2 separate regions of the Homo sapiens genome follow, and region 1 is linked to region 2. The links are contacts of gene promoters, found by promoter capture Hi-C in blood cells and fetal thymus (Javierre and others, 2016). All regions are on one chromosome and are shown on one strand. Each heading gives the region's core, a stretch centred on a gene start or on the middle of the fragment in contact. The rest is flanking DNA. Distances are from core to core; before and after follow the strand shown.

What was found. Contacts are between HindIII fragments. The CHiCAGO score rates a contact against its expected background, and 5 or more counts as called.
Region 1: a contact is called between a fragment that was not itself captured here and the fragment with the promoter of RHOT1 in region 2, in 1 of 17 cell types (endothelial precursors). The highest score is 7.8, in endothelial precursors.

Annotation. Positions count from the first base shown.
Region 1 is chr17:31,438,529-31,442,522 of GRCh38, reverse strand. All of the region lies in intron 3 of RAB11FIP4 (RAB11 family interacting protein 4), which reads right to left. Among named protein-coding and RNA genes, the nearest start is that of RAB11FIP4, 49 kb to the right of the region's middle. The HindIII fragment of the contact is 4,954 bases long and covers 1-3,994 here.
Region 2 is chr17:32,141,178-32,145,453 of GRCh38, reverse strand. RHOT1 (ras homolog family member T1) reads right to left here and starts at 2,952. Exons shown (of 20, transcript NM_001033566.3): 1 at 2,725-2,952. The coding sequence starts at 2,761. It overlaps LOC105371730 (a long non-coding RNA gene), which reads left to right and starts at 2,319. Exons shown (of 2, transcript NR_136413.1): 1 at 2,319-2,429; 2 at 2,741-4,228. RefSeq lists silencers at 2,672-2,731, 2,762-2,991 and an enhancer at 3,452-3,621. The HindIII fragment of the contact is 3,152 bases long and covers 2,417-4,276 here.

The DNA of each region.
Region 1 (3,994 bases), core at 1,171-3,670, 700 kb after region 2:
CAGCCACAGATAAGATGTGAACAAATGGGTGTGGCTGTGTTCCAGTAAAACTTTATTTACAATAACAAGCTCCTAGATTTGGCTCGTGGGGTCTGTAATTTGCCAACCTCTGATTTACTTTAAAGCAACGATTGCTGCTGTGGGGAAATACTTAGCTATAAGAATGATTATTACACTGCTTTTGTTCATTCCCCAAATTACGTTAAAAATATATATATACACCTGGCTGGGCATGGTGGCTCACGCCTGTAATCCCAGCACTTTGGGAGGCCGAGGCAGGTGGATCACGAGGTCAGGAGATCGAGACCATCCTGGCTAACAGAGTGAAACCCTGTCTCTACTAAAAATACAAAAAAATTAGCCAGGCGTGGTGGCGGGCACCTGTAGTCCCAGCTACTTGGGAGGCTGAGGCAGGAGAATGGCGTGAACCCAGGAGGCGGAGCTTGCGGTGAGCCGAGATTGCACCACTGCACTCCAGCCTGGGCGACAGAGTGAGACTCCGTCTCAAAAAAAAAAAAAGTGTATATACGCCCAACAATAAGAAACTGGTATATAAATTTGGTTGTCTTCATGTGATGAAATATCATGTTGCCATTTAAAATTTAAAATGGCAGCATGGCTACCTTGTTATATAGAATTAAGCATGATAGAAAATAGCATATAAATAAACTATTAAATATAAAGAGAGTTTAATGGGCCAGGCATGGTGGCTCACACCTCTAATCCTAGCACCTTGGGAAGCCAAAGCAGGCAGATCACCTGAGGTCAGGAGTTCGAGGCCAGCCTGGCCAACATAGTGAAACCCCGTCTCTACTAAAAATACAAAAATTAGCCAGGCATGGTCGTGGGCGCCTGTAATCTCAGCTACTCGAGAGGCTGAGGCAGGAGAATTGCTTGAACCCGGGAGGCAGAGATTGCAGTGAGCCGAGATCACACTGCTGCACTCCAGCCTGGGCAATAAGAGCAAGACCCTGTTTCAATAAATAAATAAATAAATAAATAAAATAAGGAGAGTTTAATAGGGTTATCATGACAAGATTAACACCAAAAATGAAAACCTATCCTATACATCAGTTGTAACCAGTTATAAAATATCATAGCAAAAAGATCCTACACATATCAGCACAAAAACTCCAAATATAGTCACCCTAAGAAGAAAGTGTGCATAACCTATTTAAGAAAATTATAAAACTTTCCGGCCAGATGCGGTGGCTCACACCTGTAATCCCAGCACTTTGGGAGGCCGAAGCAGGAGGATCACCTGAGGTCAGGAGTTTGAGACCAGCCTGGCCAACGTAGTAGAACCCCATCTCTACTGAAAATACAAAAAATTAGCCGGGCATGGTGGTGGGCACCTGTAGTCCCACCTACTAGGGAGGCTGAGGCAGGGGAATCGCTTGGACCTGGGAGGCAGAGGTTGCAGTGAGCAGAGATCCAGCCACTGCACTCCAGCCTGGGCAATAACAGCAAAACTCCATCTCAAAAAACCCAAAAAACCAAAAAAGAAAAACAACAGAAAACTTTCCTAGAGGGCATAAAAGGCCAGAATAAATGAAAAGATATATGCATTCCTGGATGACAGAATGCAATATTGTAAAGAAGCCAATTTCCTTCAATTAATGCACAAATTTAATTTCAAATATGATCTCCTACAGGATTTGCAATAGAGCTTGACAAAAAGGCTGTTCCAGAAAAGAAAATATGTAAGAATAACAAAAAAACAGTTTTTTTTATTTGTTTTTGTGTGTGTGTGTATGACAGAGTCTCACTTTGTCGCCAAGGCTTAAGCGCAATGGCGTGATCTCAGCTCACTGCAACCTCCGCCTCCCGGGTTCAAGTGATTCTCCTGCCTCAGCCTCCCAAGTAGCTGGGATTACAGACATGTGCCACCATGCCTGGTTAATTTTTGTATTTTTAGTAGAGATGGGGTTTCACCATGTTGGTCAGGCTGGTCTTGAACTCCTGACCTCGGGTGATCCACCTGCCTTGGCCTCCCAAAGTGCTGGGATTACAGGCATGAGCCACCGCACCTGGCCTTAAAGGTTAAAGAAACAAAGAAGGATGAGAGAGCCTTTCCCTATCAGATATCAAACTATAAACAAGAGTAACTGAAACTATGGTTTTGGCTTAAAAGTAGGTAGACAAACAGATCAATATAACAGACCAGAGTCCAGAAAGAGACCTACGTATATAAGGTAAGTTAGCATACAATAAAGATAAAATTTCAAATCAATTGAGAAAGAGGGACTATTCAACATTAGGAACTCAAAGTACTGGCCATATTGAGGAAGTAAGAGTGCCAGATCTCTACTCCCACCAAAAGCAAAAATAAGCTCCAGGTGGATAAAAGAGCTAAGCATAAATACTTCTTTTTCTCAAAAGTATCTGAAAACTATATATAGGAGAATATGTTTATAGCCTGGAGGTACAGAAGGCACAAAATGATACACAAAATGCAAATGGCATAAAAAGGTTGATAAATGATGACATCAGAATTAACATTCTGTGTAATAAAACACTCCTAAAACAAGATTAAAACACAAGCAAAATCCATAAAGATTGATAATCAGGATATATAGAGATTTCAACCTGTTGCTGTGGCTCACACCTGTAATCTCAGCACTTTGGGAGGCCGAGGTGGGCAGATCACCTGAGCACAGGAGTTCAAGACCAGCCTGAGCAACATGCAAAACCCTGTCTCTACCAAAAACAAAACAAACAAACAAACAAACAAAAAAACAAAAATTAGCTGGATGTGGTGGCGTGTGCCTGTGGTACCAGCTAATTGCGGGGCCGAGGCAGGTGGATCGCTTGAGCCCGGGAGGCAGAGGTTGCAGTGAGCTGAGATTGAGCCACTGCACTCCAGCCTGGGCAGTAGAGCGAGACTGCCTCAAAAAACAAACAAGCAAAAAACAGAATATACAGAGATTTCTTATAAATCAATAAGGAAAAGACAAACAACCATATCGAAAATGGGCAAAGAATATGAATAGCTAATTCGTAAAAGCAGAAATCCAGAGGGTATGGGAAGATAAGAAAAAGATGGTCCGCCTCCCTAGGAAGCTGGGCAGCACAGAGGACGGCAGCAATGGGCTTTCCTCCCCTCAGGCTGCTAGGCCGGAGACCAGCAGGTGGATGGATGGCTTCCGGGGTTGGCGAAGGCCATGGGGAAAGGGGCAATCTCATATAGTGCTTGGGTGATACAAATGGTACAGGCTTTGTGGAAGAAAATTTCATCCGTATCTGTTAAAAAACAAAATCTACATACCCTTTGACACAGCAATTCTGCTTCCAGATACCTAGTTCTAGAAATACTTAGAGACACACCCAAGGAGCATGGATAACGATGCTTGCTGTGGGTGCTGTCCTGGGGGTGAAAAGGAGGAGCTCAGCCTGAGCCCTGAAGCCACTGGGTGGACATGGGGCTGGCTGTCATGAAGGGTGAGGTTCAGGCAGTGGTAGAGGGTGAAGGGCCCCCAGGAAGCTCAGTGCAGGTCCTTCTCCTTTGGGCTGGGGCAGAAGGAGTCAGGGAGGCTTCCTGGAGGAGGCGGTACCTAAGTAAAAATTTTTTTTTTAAGAGAAGCAGTCTCACTATATTGTCCAGGCTGGTCTCAAACTCCTGGGCTCAAGTAATCCTCCCACCTCAGCCTCCCAAAGTGCTGGGATTACAGGCATGAGCCACCACTCCCGGCAAGTAAGTCTTAAAAAGGTGAGTAGACGTTAGCTCCTGACAAGGAAGCGGGAGGGAGGACATCCTAGGAGAAAGATAACACTCAGAGGCAAGAGAGAACATGGCTTTCTCAGGAAACGGGGAGCGGTTTGGTATCGCCAGTTTTAGGTGTGAGATGCACCATGGTGAGAGATGAGGCTAGAGTAGTGGGTAGGAGCTGATGTTGGTTTTCATCCCTTGGTAAGGACGGGTCCCAGGAGCGGGATGGGGGTGTGGAGAGAGGAAGGCTGAGGACAGGAGGACGCCCGGTCAGTGGGTGGCAGT
Region 2 (4,276 bases), core at 1,703-4,202:
CTGCCAGATTCATTTTAAAAGAAGATAACAGTTCCATTTTCTTAAGGAACTTAACTAGTAGAAAACAAATATATCTCAATTTAATTTAAAAAGAAGACTCCATTAAAATGAAAACTATCCTGTTTACTATTATCAATATATATATATATTTTTTGAGACAGAGTCTCACTCTGTCCCCCAGGTTGGAATGCAGTGGTGTGATCTCAGCTCACTGCGACCTCCATCTCCTGGGTGAAAGCCATTCTCCTGCCTTAGCCTCCTGAGTAGCTGGGATTACAGGTGCGTGCTGCCACAGCTGACTAATTATTGTATTGTTAGTAGAGACTGGGTTTCGTCATGTTGGTCAGTTTCCTGGTCTCAAACTCCTGACCTCAGGTGATCTGCCCACTTTGGCCTCCCAAAGTGTTGGGGTTACAGGCATGAGCTACTGTGCCCAGCCATTAAAAATTAATTTTTTCTTTAAGAGACAGTCTTGCTCTGTCACCTGGGCTGAAGTGCAGTGGTGTGATCATGGCTCACTGCAACCTCGATTTTCTGGGTTCAAGCAATTCTCTCATCTCAGCCTCCCCAGTAGCTAGGACTACAGGTGCACACCACCATGCCTAGCTAATAGTGTTGTGGTTTTTTTTTTTTGAGGCGGGGTCTCACTATGTTGCCCAGGCTGGTCTCAAACTCCTGCGTTCAAGCAATCCTCCTGCCTCAGCCTCCCAAAGTGCTGGGATTACAGGAGTGAGCCACTGTGCCCAGCCATTAATATTTAAATTTTTTGTAGAGACAGGATCTCACTACATTGCCCAGGTTGGTCTCAAACTCCTTGGCCTCAAGTGATCCTCCTGCCTCAGCCTCCCAGAGTGCTTGGAATACAGGTATAAGCCACCTCACCCAGCTGTGTGGGAGCATTATTAAAGGTTTTTTTTCAGACAGAGTCTTGCTCTGCTGCCCAGGCTGGCATGTCTCAGCTCACTGCAACCTCCTCCTCCAGGGTTCAAGTGATTCTCCTGCTTCAGCCTCCAGAGTAGCTGGGACTACAGGTGTGTGCCACCACACCCGGCTAATTTTCGTATTTTTAGTAGAGACGGGGTTTCACCATGTTGGCCAGGCTCGTCTCGAACTCCTGACCTCAAGTGATCTGCCTGCCTTGGCCTCCCAAAGTGCTGGGATTACAGGCATGAGCCACAGTGCCTGTAATCCCAGGCACTGCACTCCAGCCTCGGTGACAGAGCGAGACTCTGTCTCAAAACAACAACAACAACAAACTATTTCATCATATATTTAAGGATCAGTTTTTTAAGCAAGTCGTCTACTCACTTTCCCTACCTTGCTCCAAAAGCATAAGCATGAATTATATGTTAAATAACACCTTCCTGAACCTTGTCAAGGAAGTCCATGAAAAATACAGATTAAGATATAGTTATAAATAAAAATAAAAATTTACAACTGCAAATCAAAAAGTAAACTATGGCTGGCTAAGCTTACTCCTAAATTCTAATTCTAAAGGAAGATTTCTCCAAACAGCAGGTGGATGAAATTTCAATGAACTCAAAGAACACTACAGAAGAGGGTAAAAACGTGTTAACTTTCTTCCTTGGGATTCCATCACGGTGACCCTGAGGGGTTACCAAGAATGAAATAATGGTTTAAAACAGAATGCTTCGAAACAGCAATGGCAGACTATTAACGAATGTATTAACTCTTTAAAACAAACAATCCAGTTATCCCTGGCCCACTTTCTTATTTTAGTCCTAGCAACTGAGTTACATAACTTGCAGAGTGAAATCAAGAAGTCCCCGCTGTTGCGTCCTCATGTCAGTGAACAGAGGGAACTCTCCTTTATTATATTTTCAAAAGGTGAAATGTATGAAATTTCTGGGTGGGGGGAGATATCAAATGTCTGTGTGCCTGTGGTTATTAATAAGTTAACTACGAAGTAACTATGGAATAAATAATGCTTAAAAAGAGGGCAAAGATTACGCTTTAGGGTAACAACAATTGGACCCTCCCCAGATAATTCTAATTCATTGAGCGCTTGCATAACTCGAAGTTGAGTAAAAATTTTTGATGAAATATCTCGAGTACGAGGAGTTAGTCCAATGCAAAGTACAAGTACTGCTAAAAAGGATCCGGCCCTTTCCACTACTCATATCTTAATGTCAATACATAGAGAGAGTGAAGACTGCGAGTGCCAAAAAAATGCAGAAACCTGACCTTGCCCACAAGTCGAATAGTTCTGCACCCCTCCCCCAGCTTCCCCGGGAGCCGGTTCACGCAATCCCTATTGGTCAGTCTGCTTATTCCAGCACCTGCCTGGCAGTGATAAGGGAATCTCCAGAAGACAAGAAGGTCTGAAAGGAGGCGGCCTGGGAAACTGTGAGGCCCAGAAGGACAGGGTTCGAAGAGGAAAAGGAGGAGAGAAGCTTCGGAGGGATGAGGTCGGGCGGTTAGGGCTAATAGGGACATGGCTTGGGAGGACGGCTGGGGAACAGGGAAAGGAGATCTCTGGAGGGCCCAGGTGAGGTGACAGGGTGAGGGCCGCCGGCGGCCAGCCAAAAGAGAAGAGTGAAGGGGCTGGAAGGCCTAGGAACGCGGAGAAAGGCGAGCGGAGCTGTGAGGCGCGAGAAGGGCCGGGGCTGCAAAGGTTGGGGCTGCAGGGGCGACAGGGGCGACAGGGGCTGCAGGGGCAGGGAGGGCAGGGACTCAGGGGCCGGCCAGAGGGTGCGGACTCACGTTCTCCCACCAGCAGGATCCGCACGTCTTTCTTCATGTCGGCGGCTCTCGGGGGCCGGCCTCCGCCCGCACGCACGGAGTGGACTCCTCTCACCAGGAGCACCCACCCCACGGCGCCACCTGCCAGCCTCTTCGGCCGCCGGGGCCCGCCGCGCCGCCCCCTCAGTTGCTTCCCCGCAAGAGAGCCGGGACAGCGCCAGCTCCGCCTCCTCCGGCCCAGCGGGCTGTGGCGGCGGCGGCGGCGGCGGCGGCGGCGGCGGCGGCGGCGGCGGCGGCGGGGACGACGGCACGCGGCGAGGGACACGCGCTTTCGGAACGCGAACGCGCTCTGCGCCGGAACAGCGCTCCCGCTGTCAGGCCGCCGCAGCGCAGGCCCAGGGAGCCTCGCCCACCCTCCTTTGGGCACCGCGACCCCGGAGACACTTGGGCCAGGAATTTGAATGGCGGATTCCCTGGTTTAACCCCGTTTATTTTATAGATAGGGACAGAAATTCCCTGTTCAAAGTCACATAGCTAGAGCTTGGCAGTGACTCAGAGCAGGGATCTTCTCACCAGACCATAAACTCCGGGAGGGCAGCGATCAGCTTGCATGGTTTTCAGCTGCGTCCCCACGTTATTGGATAGGGCCGTCAGAAAATGCTTGATCGAGTAGGGCGACTGGCTCCCAGGATCCGGCGCTTTCCACTCCCCAAAGCCCGTCACCCTAGTTGCTTTTGCCTCTGATGCTTATAAAATACGATTATAAGATTCGTTTTTACGCTGTGTGAACAAGACTCCTTTCTTTATAACCAAACTAAGTGACTTTTTTTCTGTCTATGTAGTTTATTTTATGGCAGGGTTTTCGGACACTCTTCTTTACTCAGGCTTACCCAGCGTAATGCTAGACACGGAGGTGGCACTCGATAATAAACTCTAGATGATTTTTCTAACATTGCCTTAATTTTCTCGTGACCCTCTCCATCTGGAGGAATTTGTTGTTACATGCTTAATGTTTGGTACACAATGGCAAATATATATATATACATACGCGTGCGAATATATATCACATCCCTAATACTTGGCACACAGTGGGAAATATAAAATACATAAATTAATGAGGAAGCACTATCTGTGCATAATGTACATTTTTTCTATCTTAAATATTACACAATAAACACTTAAAGGGAATGAAATGTGCGTAATACCAACTTCCCTTTCTCCTAGGAGAAGTCATGTGGTCTCTTGCAGCAGTTAAGAGTTGCTGGCAAATTTCCTGGGTTTGAATCTAGGCTCCACATAATAGCTCTGTGATCTCGACTAAGTGCTTTTATTTTTACTTCCCTCAGCCACTGTTCCTTCTTCTGTAGCATGGAAATAATGATGATAATACCTTCCTCTTGAGATGGTTGTGAGTAATAAATACTATAATACTTGTCAAGCATTTGGTACAGTGCCAGACTCAGAGCGTGTGCTCTACTGATCTCAGCTATCATTATTATATTAAAAAGTCACTAAAAAGTTGTAATCCACAGATTTTTTGTTTTGTTTTGGTTTTGTTTTGAGACGGAGTCTC